5 separate regions of the Homo sapiens genome follow, and all the other regions are linked to region 2. The links are contacts of gene promoters, found by promoter capture Hi-C in blood cells and fetal thymus (Javierre and others, 2016). All regions are on one chromosome and are shown on one strand. Each heading gives the region's core, a stretch centred on a gene start or on the middle of the fragment in contact. The rest is flanking DNA. Distances are from core to core; before and after follow the strand shown.

What was found. The method cuts DNA at HindIII sites, captures the fragments that hold promoters and counts their contacts. A CHiCAGO score of 5 or more calls a contact.
Region 1: a contact is called between a fragment that was not itself captured here and the fragment with the promoter of ACO1 in region 2, in 15 of 17 cell types (erythroblasts, M0 macrophages, M2 macrophages and 12 more). The highest score is 15.0, in erythroblasts.
Region 3: a fragment that was not itself captured here is called in contact with the fragment with the promoter of ACO1 in region 2 in 3 of 17 cell types (M2 macrophages, erythroblasts and M0 macrophages); the score reaches 6.0 in M2 macrophages.
Region 4: a fragment that was not itself captured here is called in contact with the fragment with the promoter of ACO1 in region 2 in 2 of 17 cell types (erythroblasts and endothelial precursors); the score reaches 6.7 in erythroblasts.
Region 5: a contact is called between a fragment that was not itself captured here and the fragment with the promoter of ACO1 in region 2, in 4 of 17 cell types (erythroblasts, monocytes, M2 macrophages and 1 more). The highest score is 12.1, in erythroblasts.

Annotation. Positions count from the first base shown.
Region 1 is chr9:32,983,877-32,986,576 of GRCh38, reverse strand. It overlaps APTX (aprataxin), which reads left to right. Exons shown (of 8, transcript NM_001195248.2): 5 at 547-606; 6 at 1,720-1,946. Among named protein-coding and RNA genes, the nearest start is that of APTX, 16 kb to the left of the region's middle. The HindIII fragment of the contact is 1,664 bases long and covers 425-2,088 here.
Region 2 is chr9:32,383,332-32,386,031 of GRCh38, reverse strand. ACO1 (aconitase 1) reads right to left here and starts at 1,389. Exons shown (of 21, transcript NM_002197.3): 1 at 1,297-1,389. RefSeq lists a silencer at 1,209-1,588. The HindIII fragment of the contact is 14,350 bases long and covers 1-2,700 here.
Region 3 is chr9:32,924,107-32,926,806 of GRCh38, reverse strand. It overlaps the pseudogene BOLA3P4. Among named protein-coding and RNA genes, the nearest start is that of APTX, 76 kb to the left of the region's middle. The HindIII fragment of the contact is 3,149 bases long and covers 1-2,700 here.
Region 4 is chr9:32,945,395-32,948,094 of GRCh38, reverse strand. It overlaps the pseudogene ASS1P12. Among named protein-coding and RNA genes, the nearest start is that of APTX, 55 kb to the left of the region's middle. The HindIII fragment of the contact is 1,338 bases long and covers 605-1,942 here.
Region 5 is chr9:33,003,270-33,005,969 of GRCh38, reverse strand. It overlaps a transcript of APTX not described here. Among named protein-coding and RNA genes, the nearest start is that of APTX, 3.0 kb to the right of the region's middle. The HindIII fragment of the contact is 833 bases long and covers 923-1,755 here.

The DNA.
Region 1 (2,700 bases), core at 7-2,506, 600 kb before region 2:
GAGCCGAGATCACGCCATTGTACTCCAGCCTGGGCAACAAGAGCGAAACCCCATCTCAAAAAAAAAAAGAAAGAATATAGGGTCGGGTGTGGTGGCTCACGCCTGTAATCCCAGCACTTGGGGAGGTGGAGGCCAGTGGATCACCTGAGGTGAGGAGTTCAAGACCAGCATGGCCAACCTGGTGAAACTCCGTCTCTACTAAAAAATACAAAAGTTAGCTGGGCGTGGTGGTGGGCACCTGTAATCCCAGCTACTTGGGAGGCTGAGGCAGGAGAATCACTTCGGAGGTTGCAGTGATCACGCCGCTGCACTCCAGCTTGGGTGAGACAGAGTGAGACTTTGTCTCAAAAAAAAAGAGAATATAGGAAGGCAATGGAGTGAAGCAGAGTCAAGTGAATCTTGTTTAATTCTCAAAAACTAAGCTTATTTCCAAGTTTAGTTGTGCTATCACACAGTATTAACTGTTGCCAAATTTAATTATTGGCATTTGTAATTTACATTGCTTGTTTTTTTTTTTTTTTGTTTTTTTTTTTGTTTTTTTTTTAGGAATCCCTGGGCCACTGGAGTCAAGGCTTGAAGATTTCTATGCAGGACCCCAAAATGCAGGTCAGAATACAATTTTGGAATTTCAGTACATTTCATGTTGTAAATGACCACTCCACAGAGGTCTTAATTACAAATGAAATCAAAGGATATCAGTCTTTCTGAATGAGATTCATTTTATTGGGCTGTTCTGTGAGAACAAGAGGCTTTTCACATTGGCAATAAAGTAGCAGCTGTCATTGTTTGGAGAGAAAGCTGAGTTCTTCAAATGAATATCCCCTCTGCCTTGTGCCTTTTAAACTTCTGGGTACTTTAAGGGAAGTTGCATTAACCTTAGTATGGTTCCTTTCAGGGGAGCATCAGAGATAATACACTGTGACAGTAGTACTGTGCTGCCCTGGCATTAACAGTCAGACATCCCTGTAATCCCAGCACTTTGGGAGGCCGAGACGGGAGGATCACCTGAGGTCAGGAGTTCGAGATCAGCCTGACCAACATGGAGAAACCCTGTCTCTACTAAAAATACAAAAAATTAGCTGGGCATGGTGGTGCATGCCTGTAATCTCAGCTACTCGAGAGGCTGAGGCAGGAGAATCACTTGAATCCGGGAGGTGGAGGTTGCGGTGAGCTGAGATTGCACCATTGTACTCCAGCCTGGGCAACAAGAGCGAAACTCCATCTCAAAAAAAAAAAAAAAAAAAAAAAAACAGGCATCATCCTTGAGGAGCCTTTGAGTCCCACTTCAATTATATTCCTTGTTGACAAGGGGCAGGTCTAATAGGGCTCACTGGAACCCACGTGTACGTGTCACACAGTCTGCCATGTTGGAGTGGAGAAGGATGCTTTTGAATTTATGTCTACAGAGATTTTACATCACATTCTTGGGAACTATTTTGTACTGTGCATCTTCTGTGTATTCTGTGTAGTGTGGTGGTTGAAAACAGACTCTGGAGTCAACCACATCTGAGTTGGAATCCTAGATTTCCCTCTTAGGAACTATGACTTGTGCAAGACACTCAACCTGTCTGAATTTCAGTGCTCTCCTCTCTCAAAACTGGGCTATTAAAACCATTTGCACAAGACTGTGGGAATTAAGTGACTTAGTGAATATAACAACCAGGCACACAGAAGATTCTTAGTAGATGTCTGTTTCCTTCTCTTGTATCCCTCTGCTAGGTTTACAAAGATGAGCAGGTGGTGGTGATAAAGGATAAATACCCAAAGGCCCGTTACCATTGGCTGGTCTTACCGTGGACCTCCATTTCCAGTCTGAAGGCTGTGGCCAGGGAACACCTTGAACTCCTTAAGCATATGCACACTGTGGGGGAAAAGGTGATTGTAGATTTTGCTGGGTCCAGCAAACTCCGCTTCCGATTGGGCTACCACGCCATTCCGAGTATGAGGTAAGCCAGGTGGGTAGTGCTGCTGGCTCCTGGTTCTGTCCAGGTGGGCAGATAGATTCAGCCTGGGCTTGCTGAGGGCACATATTGCACTGAGACCCAGGGAAGTGGGATGGAGTTTTTCCAAAGCAGGTGGGCTGAAGCTTCCACCTCTCTGCCTGACTTGCATGCAAGCTTTGAGTTCCCACTTCTGCCTATAATTCAGTCATATTTGGTTCTTTGTTCCTCTCAAAATATAAATCTTCGAGAGCCTAATATATGAACTAGATGAAGCAGCTTCATTATCCTCAGATAAAGAATTGTGGTCAGTGGCTTTTATCAGATTCTTCAAAAGCGTCTATAACCCCAGAATGATTAAGGACCATTACTCTGAAGGAAACAAACATCATAGACTTCTGTAATGACAGCGTAGTAGATCCAGGATTTGAAAATAAAATGAGAGAAAAGTATAGAATTTGTTTTCCTGTGGCTTATGCCCAGAAGGATTCAGAAAGGAATGACTGATTTCTTTCAAAGAATACAAGCAAGGTGGATCTCCGTGATTTCTTTGATTTAAGCAATAAGATGATAAGTCTAGATTTTAGAGTTTTTATTTTGTTTTTAAAAAACTGTGATATAATATACATAACAAAATTTACATTTTAGTCATCTTTAAGTGTACAATTCATTGGCATTACTATATTCATATTACTATGCAACCATTACTACCATCTATCTCCAGAACTGTTTTCTCTTCCCAAATTGAAACTCTGTACCT
Region 2 (2,700 bases), core at 140-2,639:
GTTCATCACAGCCTCACGTGGGGACCTAGTACATGGTTTCCAAAGTGAGATCAAACTTGGTTCCAGATACCAGAGGTTAATACTGTCCATGGCATGAGGTGGTGTGTGTTCCCAATCAGAGGAAGGATCACAAACAAGAAGCAGGCCCAATGAATGAAGCCTCTGAAGCATTTCCTACACCAGCATCCTCAAAGTGTGGTGCAGAGAACTCCTAGGGATCTCCAAAGTCAAAACCATTTTCCTAGTAATAAAATGTTACTTGCTTTTTTTCATTCACACATTTTCAGGAGTATACAGTGGAGGTCTCAAGAGGCTACATGATATGTGATATTGCAACAGACTGCAGAAGCAGCTATCAGAATCCAGCTGTCTTCAATTACGCTTGACATCAAAGAGATTTGCAAAAATGTAAAACAATGCCACTCTTCTCAATCATTTTCTGTTTTGGGAAATATAGTTCTTTTTCATAAAAATAGGCAATGTTAAGATATAATTAGTTCACTATTCTTTTTAAATGAATTATTATAGTACAAATTTCTCAGTCTTACTTACATATTATAAATATGGATAGATATAACACACATAAAAGCTCCTTAAGATACTAATTTTTAAGAGTGTAAAGGAGTACTGAGTACCAGAAAAGTTTGGGGACTTCTGTCCTAGAGGTTGTCCCCCAGGGAAGAGAGTTACATGTGTTGCAAGAAGGAAGATGCCATTATGATGTGCTAGCTGAATCTAGAAAAAAATGACTTGGTCATAACTGCAGCCCAAGCTCCTTTCTAGATCTCTGAATCTATCATGGTGGGCTCTGTGTTCAAGCCTCCCACGAAGGGTCTCTTCCCCCTCATCCCATTTTCCCTTTACCCCTTGGAGTGGATTCCCGGATCTGCCCGCACAACTTTAGCAAGGGTTTCCCTATCCAGCCAGCCGGGCCTGGGCGAGGACTCCCAGTGCGGGCCTCACACCCTCGGGGTTAGGACTCCCAGGACTGGCCGCACACCCTAGGCAAGGACTTTCAGGACAGCACGCACAGCCAAGGCTAAGAAGGGTCTAGGAAAGCCACTTCCAATCCCTGGTTTCTCTCCCCGGCATGACATAGACTGGGGACAGGGTGGAGACGTCAGTCGCCAGAAACACGTCCCCGATTCTCCTCTCAGCCTCCCCAAGCTCGCCTCCGTGTCCCCCGTGCCGCCACTGCCTCGGGCACCTCGGTAAAGGCCCGCACCGACTCTCGAGGGATACAGGGTGGACGGCGCTCCCGCCTGGGGACGTGGGTCGGGCCGCGTCGGTACTCACCTCCGACTGCACGGCGGGGCTCCCGCGACCGGCGAACCTGACCCAAGCAGCGGGACGCGTTCCCGTGCGCTGCGCGGTTCCAGCTGCCGCCTCCACGCTCCGCCCCCTCTCGCCCCCGGGGCCGCCGCGCGATGGGCGGAGCAGGGGCGGGAAGGGCGGAGCAGGGGCGGGACGGACGGGCAGCTAGCCGAAGAAGGGGCGGAGCCTGCGGGCGCCCCCGCGGGCCTGGAGGACTTCGCCCCGGGCTGGAGGCTAGGGTTGCGAAGGGCTCCTCCGCTGGAAGTGGGAGGGCTGATCCCTCGGCCCGGGTCCGCTTCTGCCAGCATGGGACCTGGGACGAGGGTGTCTGTTGCTCACTTTGGAGCTTAGCATGTGACTCCCCAGCCGGCGTTAGGAAGTGACCAAAGGGTGGGGAAGAAATGGAATTATTTTTAAAAAATGATTTGGCCATAACTGGAGAGGCTTCATGTACGTGTGGTCACTTGGCCCGCCTCCCTTCTCACTTTGTCCGTCCCCACCCTACCCACCCTCTCCACCCTCGCCTTAATTCTTTGCGCAAAGCCTGCCAAGTGGACATCGGAGTCACGCTGTCAGAATAGGACTTCAGCATTTCCGTGGCAAAAGTTCTATATGTAGATTTCCTTGGACATGTAACAACACTTTCTAATGCACGATGTTCACCGGTCTGAAGTCGGAGAAATGGCTGGGAGATGGCAGCAAGTGGGCTTTCACAAGATCTGCTTTTCATGTTGGTAGGAGTTGTGCCCTCTTGGGTGAATGGCGTTCAAAGAAGTGATTAGATCTTTCTAGATGAAAGGTGGTGAGGTTTTCCTGCCCAAATTATTTGGAAAGTTACTGTAGTTTTCTGAATAAGCAGCTTATAGGATGAGTAAACAATAGCCAGTACTAATAGCCCCCCTGCTACTTTATACTGCCCTCCTATTCTGCACAAAGCCCTGTGATCGACTCTTTCCACGTTATTCAGTTCAGCTCTTCCAACCACCTTACAAGTAAAGAATATTACCCGTCTTTGCAGGTGTGCAATGCGCAACAGCTGAGACTCAGTCCTTAGGTTGGTTTGACACCAAAGCCTACACCTTCCCTGTCATACTGCACTATAGGGTACAACTATCGTCTAGTTATATTTAACTTTGAAATATAAATACTTATATTTATTTTGAAAGGGGAAGTAACTGTATTTCCAATATGAGAGGAGACTGTTTTCCCACCCACTTCCTAAATCCTTTCCATTCACATTAGTAATTAAATTTTCTTTGAATGTCCACCATATGGCAGAGGTGCACCACAATCCCTGAAAAATCATGCTCCAGTCCCCTTGGGAGGTAGGGAGAGTAGGGGCAAGGTGAGAGTGAGTAGAAGGCTGGGGAAGTCCGATGAGGACAC
Region 3 (2,700 bases), core at 197-2,696, 540 kb before region 2:
TTTCTATGAGACGTCAGTTGGACATTGGCTTTTGTCCCCTTTCTTCATTTTGGCTACCAATATCATTATCTCTAGAATAATTTTTTGGCTCATGGATGGTACCTTTCCTTAATTTCTAGCACCAATGAGATTTGTCCCAGTTTTACATTTCCTTAGTCATTTCAGACACCTATGCTCAGATCTCCATCTGTTTTTTGAGTTGAACATCTTTTCCCACCTCTCTCCTCCACCAGTTGTCTGTTGCCTTTAATTAACCTCTAAATAGATAACACATTCTTCTTTAATTGTAGTATGGAAATGTCTACGAACAAAACAGATACTTTTTTTTTTTTTTTTTTTTTGCAAATGCGTAGGAAAGAGTGGTTCCAGTCAAGTTCATCCGAAGTTTTAGGCAGCTGCATCTACACAGCCCCGGGGGCATGGAGGTCAGTGTCTGGGGACAGAGGTAAATACCCACCATCTGTGCATCCCTTTGATTTTCCTTTTTTAGTGCCTGATTAATCATCTGGTGCTGAGGGACAGTTCTTGTTTCTTTAAATTCTTCTGGTTTGATTTGGATTTTATACATCACCTACAGCCTCCTGAAATGTCAGTGACTTGGATAGCTGTAGCTCCAGAAAACTTCTCTTTGAGAATTTGGGTCCCTTTGAGCTCCCCGTCAGTCTGGGAGGCAAACATTCAATGAACACAGTGCAGAAGAGGAAGCCTGCAGATCCTGCGTGGAGAGGAGCTACAAGGGCAGGGTTCCACATCTCTGTGTCTGACTGATGTAGCCCGCCGCCCTAGGCCACTGGGCCACCTGAAAGCTGAGCATCCTTTTTAAAAGAATTTTTGGACCTTTTATTTTGAAATAATTTTAGACTTAAAGAAAAGTTGCAAAAATTAAATGGAGTTCCTTTATACCCTTCACCCTGCTACCCCTGTTAACATCTTACATAATCAGGAAATTAACATTGACAGGAAATTAACCAGGACATGAAACCAGGAAATTAACATTCGTACAATGCTTGTAACTAAATTGCAGACCTTATTCAAATTTCCCCAGCTTTCCCCTAATGTTGTATTATTGAGCATCTTTAAAAAATGATTTTTAATGCATCAGAAATACTCACAAATGATTTGCATCGGATCTGTAGTCATACCTGGAGGCCCAAAGAGTGGGTTATATTAATTTTGAGTTATATGTTTGGTCATTTGTGTGTTAATTTTGAAATCACAGACTAGCTCAGTGCCAAGCATGTAGTCTTGGCCGAATGAACATTGACTGTGGCCCTATGCTTCACACTGTGATTTCAAAGATGAGCTAGATGGAGTCTCTGGAGTCAGCATTAAAATCTCTAGGGAAAATCATGTTCTTATGTTGGTAATTCCAAAGATAAGCTGTAAGGAGCACAGTTGGAGCATTTGCTCTCTAGAGATCACATGTTGTAAGGAAATTTTGCTTTTCTGAAAATTAGAAATTAGAAAAATCCTGTCAGCCAGTAAACTTTTAACAAATGGTGGAAACTAGAGCGAGACTGGGAGGAGAGGTATCAGGAATTAGGAAATGTAGCCTTGGCTGGCCTCCTCACCACACCTGGAAATATATCCCTTTGAGAGTAAATTAATGGGACCCCTACATTTACGGAATGAGGATAGTACTGATATTTGGATAACACTCTATAACCAGTGGTTTTCCATACAGCATGCCATTAAAAATCCTCCTCTCAAAACCTGATCATGGTGGTCTGGTGTGCAGAGTGAAATAAAGCATCTTCACCGGCTCTGTTTCTTTCCAGGCTTAGAGATGGCCTGGATCCAGAGGCCCCCTGTGAGTGCAGTCAGTGCGAGCCCTTCAACATGCCCTATATGGTGTCTGCTTCAGACAACTCTCATGCCTATGCTGTCAGGACCGGAATCCTCCCCACCAGGTATGGCCTTGCCTAGGGATTCTAAGTCTTATGTTTACCTGTGCTGTGCAGGTCAAATGTTCTAGTAGTGAAGGAATGACCCACTGATAGAAATGAAGTAGAGAAAGGCGACAATTTAGGAATTTCACCACTAGGCTAAACTACTTCCAAACATTCAGAGAACCTTGGATGAGCAGTTCAAAGTCCAGGGCAAGCACAGAAAATGTTGTGAACAGGTTTCACTCTTTATTCTCCTTTGTTATGAAGATGATGTATTAGTAACAGTGCTACAGGTAGTTAGGCATGAGTGGGGCAGGAGAGGGCTCTCCCTCCACCCACTAGAAATGTCGGGTGATGGTTTGGCAATTATTGCATCGCTTCTCTAAAACTTATAATTTGGCAGCGCCAGGGAGAGGCCATTTCCTGATGGTTCACACCTGTTAACATCAAAATGCTAATTGAATGCAGGCCCCAGGGAGAAGCAACTTCCTGGGCATGCGTGTTAAGAGACAAAAATGGTGAAATATGATCTTCTGGGGGCACCCTCCACTGGAAAAGGAAGAAAGCCTCAGATGGGCATGTGTACAACTCCCTAAACTCACTGTGTGTGCTCAATTCCAAAGAGTAAGGAAAGCATGGGCATGCGGAAAGCCCACCCTAAGGGAAGAATCCTGGGAGAGAGGCGAGCCTATATAGTCCCCTATAAAGGCGAACCTATAAAGATCAAGGTCAAAGGCCCCTTTTGCTGTCTTCTTTTGCTCTCATTTCTCTCTTGGACCTTCAGTGCCTGCTTGGGTCTCTTTCAAGCTAA
Region 4 (2,700 bases), core at 24-2,523, 560 kb before region 2:
GGTGTACAGGCTGGTTCACTATCAAGACATCTATTACCGTTAGTAATGAATTATGATAATACTATAAAGGAAAAACCATATGATCCTGTCAATATACACTGGAGGAACATTTTATAAAATTTAATAGCCATTCCTAATAAAAATTCTAAGCCAATAGGGTGTGATGACTTTTCTATTAAAAACAAGTCTAAGTAACAATACAAGGAAACTACTTATCTAGGATAAGGACTGTATCTCTAAACCCAATAGCAAACATTGTTCTAAATAGCAAAACTCTGAAATCATTTCATTGAAATCAGAAATTAGAAAAGGATGTCCATGTGCTATTATTATGTTACATTGTCAAAGTAAGGTAAGAAAATAATTGCCATAAACTTTGAAGAAGACGAAATAAAACTATTTATGTTTGTCTATGTGACTTCATTGTTTGCCTAGAAAACTCGAGGGACTTTAGTAATAAACTATTTGAATTGTAGGTCATTTTGGAAAAGTGGGCAGATGCAAGATAAATATACAAAAAGCACCAACTTCTCTCCGTATTAGCAGTAAGTACTTTGAAAGGAAATTAGAAAACTATTTTATTTTCTACAGTTTTATACAAGCTTAAAATACTTAGGAGTGTAATTTAAAAAAATCTTTTAATTGTCATTTTATAGCTCCCCACCGCAGCTGCCCCCACCCTTCCCTTCGATGACGACGTTTGCAGGGTTCAGGGCGACCAGGGAACAAAGCTGGGGCCTGGCAGACCCACTATGCTGCCAGCTGGAGAAAACAAGTCACAATGACAAATTATCACAATTAGCACCTGTACTTGGGGGAAAAAATCTGCAAATTGGGGAAGCCCCAGCTCCTCATTGTACAGGGGTCTGTTTGGCAGTGACCTTGCTCTGGAGATGACATTCCTTCAGCCTGAGGGAATCGACGTTGATGAACCCGTGGCATCAATCGGCTCATAATCCCCCTGCACGTTCATGCTCACCAGCTCCTCGTTGTAGAGAGACAGTGGGGACTCCCGACCGAGGATATACACCTGGCCCTTGAGGACAGACACCTGCACTTTCCCTTCCACTCATTCCTGGGACTTGGCATTACAGTGGCGGACAAATTCACACTCAGGGCTATGCCAGAAACCGGTATACACCAGCTCAGCAAATTTCAAGCTCAGGCCTTGTTTGATTTTGCGCACTTCTCGGTACATGGTGAAGGCCTTGATGTCTAAATGAGTGTGGTGAAGGATGGTCCCTGCTGGGGCCTCGCAGATACCTCAGGACTTCATTCCAATGAAGCGGTTCTCCACGATGTCAATACGGCCCACGCCGTGCTTGCCTGCAACTTCATTCAGGTACACGAAAAGCTCCAAGGAGGTCTGGTGGGTGGTGCCATCCTTGACGTTGGTCACCTTCACGGGGACCCCTTTTTTGAACTTGATCTCGAGAATGTCAGGGGTGTTGAGGGCTTTGGCTGGGTCCTGGGTCTTCATGTAGAGACCTGGAGGCACTTGGTTCTTGGGGTTCCAGGATTCCAGCCTCATAGCTGATGTGCATGAGGTTCTCGTCTATGCTTCACGGGCTCTGGGGAGTGACTGGAATGGGAACCCGATGTTGCTTTGCCTATTTCATCAGGTCATTGCAGCCCTTGAACCGGTTGTAGAACTCGGGCATCCTCCAGGGAGCGGTGACCTTTATCTGGGGGGCCAGCAAATAGCAGGTGAGCTCAAACCGGACCTGATCATTTCCTTTTCCCGTGGTGCCGTGGAACACATACTTGGCCTCCTCCTGCTTGGCGATTTCCACTTGTTTGCCGGCGATGCCGGGCCTGGCCAGAGAGGTGCCCAGGAGGTAGCGGTTCTCATACAGTGCGCTGGACTGGATGGCCGGCCAGATGAACTCCTCCACAAACTCCCTGCTGGCATCCTCAATGAACACCTTTTTGGTCCCAAGCTTCAGTGCCTTCTTCCAGGCTTCCTCGAAGTCTTCCTTCTGGCCAGTGTTGGCCAGGTAGGCAATGATGTCATAGCCTTGTTCCTTCAGCCACACGAGGATGCAAGAGGTGTCCGGGCTGCCACTGTAGGCCAGAACCACTGAGCCTTTGCTGGACATAGCATCTGGGATTGGAGGCTCGAGTTCCTGGCATCTGCCATCTGTCTTCATGGTACGGTGAACCACTCGGGCTCAGGGAGCGGTGGCAGGCGACAGAGCAGGGAGTATAATTTCAAAATACCAAACCATCCACAAAAACCCAGAGAATAGTACCCATAACCAGCTTCAACAATCGTCAATATTCTGCCCTTCTTGTTTCATCCTGCCTCTCCACCTTACCTACTGTAGTACTACTTTAAAGCAAATTTCAGAAATCAAAATAGTTTCACCTTGACAGTAAAATTAATAAGATATAAGACCTATTTAAAGTTATAAAAGCTCAATTAAAATTATAAATGTTATCTGAACAAATGGAAAGACATCTCATGTTCTTTAATGACTTGGAAACATAAAATCTATTTAAAGATTTTTAAAAATTTATTTATTTATTTATTTTCAGAGACAGGGTCTTGCTCTGTTGCCCAGGCTGGAGTGCAGTGGCAGGAGCATAGCTGTACTGCAGCCTCATACTCCTGGGCTCAAGGGATCCTCCTGCCTTAGTTTCCCAAGTAATAAGGAATACAGGCACGCACCACTATACCCAGCTAATTTTTTTTAAAGA
Region 5 (2,700 bases), core at 90-2,589, 620 kb before region 2:
ATCAAAACAGTGCAGTACTAGTGTAAAGACAGACATACAGACTGATGGAATACAATAGAAATCCCAGAAGTAAATCCTTGCATAAATGATTAAATGATATTCAGTAAGTATGTCAATACCATTCAGTGAGGAAAGGGCAGTCTTTTCAACAAATGATATTGTTAAAATCTGGGTATCCACATGCAAAAAATTGAAGTTGGAGCCTTACCTTACATAGTACAGAAAATGAACTCAAGGCCAGGCACAGTGTCTCACACCTGTAATGTCAGCACTTTGGGAGGCTGAGGCAGGAGGATTGCTTGAGCCCAGGAGTTCAAGATCAGCCTGGGCAACATAGCAAGACCTCTGTCTCTATTAAAAAAAAAATTAGCCAGGCTTGGTGGGACATGCTTGTAGTCCCAGCTACTTGGGAGGCTGAGGTGGGAGGATTGTTTGAGTCTGGGTGGTCAAGGCTGCAGTAAGCTGTGATTGCATCACTGCACTCCAGCCTGGGCAACAGAGCAAGACTCTGTCTCACAAAAACAAAAACAAAAACAAAAAACAAAAAAATAAAACCACACCTCAAAAATGGATCAAAGACCTAAACATAAGACCTAAAACTATAAAACTCTTAGAAAACATAAGGGAAAAGTTTCATGACAGATTTGGCAATGTTTTCTTGGATATAACACCAAAAGACAGGCAGCAAAAGTAAAAATAGGTAAATTAAAGTACTTCACAATTAAGTTTTGTGCATCCAGGGATACAGCCAGCAAGCAGAGTGAAAAGCACCCTATGAAATGGGAATCTTATATTTGATCAGAGGTCAATATCCAGAATATATAAAGAACTCCTACAACAAAACAAAACAAAAATAACCCCATTAAAAAATGAAGTACTTGAATAGACATTTCTCCAAATACATACAAATAGACAGGAAGCTTATGAAAAGATCAACATCACTAATCATTAGGGAAATACAAAGCAAAACCACAATGAGATACCATTTCACACCCATTAGGATGGCTGCTATCAAAAAAAAGTAACAAGCGGCCGGGCGCAGTGGCTCACACCTGTAATCCCAGCACTTTGGGAGGCCGAGGTGGGTGGATCACAAGGTCAGGAGTTTGAGATCAGCCTGGCCAATATGGTGAAACCCCATCTCTTCTAAAAAAAAAAAAAATACAAAAATTACCCGGGTGTGGTGGCAGGCACCTGTAGTCCCAGCTACTCAGGAGGCTGAGGCAGGAGAATCGCCTTAAGCCGCGAGGTGGAGGTTGCAGGGAGCCGAGATTGCACCACTGCACTCCAGCCTGGGTGACAGAGCGAGACTCCATCTCAAAAAAAAAAAAAAAAAAAAGGGTTGGCAAGAATGTGGAGAAATTGGAACTCTTGTACACTATTGGTAGAAATGTAAAATCATCCAGCTGCTATGGAAAACAGTGTGACAGTTCCTCAAAATATTAAAAATGGAATTACCATATAATCCAGCAGTTTCACTTCTGTGTATATATTCAAAATAATTGAAAGAAGAATTTTTAAAAATTGTTTCACATTAAAAACAAATTTCAGTGGCTTTAGGGGTACAAATGGTTTTTGGTTTCATGGATGAAGTGTATAATGGTGAAGTCTGAAATTTTAGTGTACCTATCACCCGAGTAATAGTTACACCCAATATGTAGTTTTTTAAAATCTCTCATCTTCCTCCCACTCTCTCCACTTCTGAATCTCCAATGAACATTATACCACTCTGTATGCCTTTACATACCCAAAGCTTAGCTGCCAATTATAAGTGAGAACATGTGGTATTTGGTTTTCCATTCCTGAGTTACTTCACTTAGAAAAATGGCCTCCAGTTCCATTCAAGTTGCTTCAAAAGACATTATTTCATTCTTCTTTATGGCTGAGTAGTATTCTGTGGTGTATATGTACGACATTTTCTTTATGCATTCATCAGTTCATGGGCATTTAGGTTGGTTCCATGTTCTTGCAATTGCAAATTGTGAAAACAGGATCTCAAAGAGATATTTATACACTCATGTTCATAGCAGCATTATTCACAATAGCCAAATGGTGGAATATCCACGGGTGGATGAATGGATAAAGTATGGTGTGTACATGCAATGGAGTGTTATTCAGCTTTAAAAAGGAACTTTTTACACATGATACAATGTGGATGAAACTTGAGGACATTATATTAAGTGAAATAAGCCAGTCGCAAATGGGCAAATACTGTCTGATTTTACTTACATGAGGTACCTAGAGTGGTCAGACTCATGAAAACTGTAAGTAGAATGGTGGTTGCCAGGTGGGGGAGGGAAAATAGGGAGCTATTTAATCGATACGGAGTTTTTTTTTTGAGGCAGAGTCTTGCTCTATCGCCCAGGCTGGAGTGCAGTGGAGTGATCTTGGCTCACTGCAACCTCTACCTCCCGGGTTCAAGCAATTCTTCTGCTTCAGCCTCCCAAGTAGCTGGGACTACAGGCGAGTTCCGCCACGCCAGGCTGGTCTTGAACTCCTGACCTCAGGTAATCCACCTGCGTTGGCCTCCCAAAGTGCTGGGATTACAGGTGTGAGCCACCGTGCCTGGCCGAGTTTCAGTTTTTCAAGATGAAAAAGTTCTGGTGATTAGCATGGCAATATGAAGTGCCTGAAAGTCTTCACTGCCTGCCATACCTTTAGCTATACATTGTGCCATGTGATCTTGCTTTTCTGGCCACT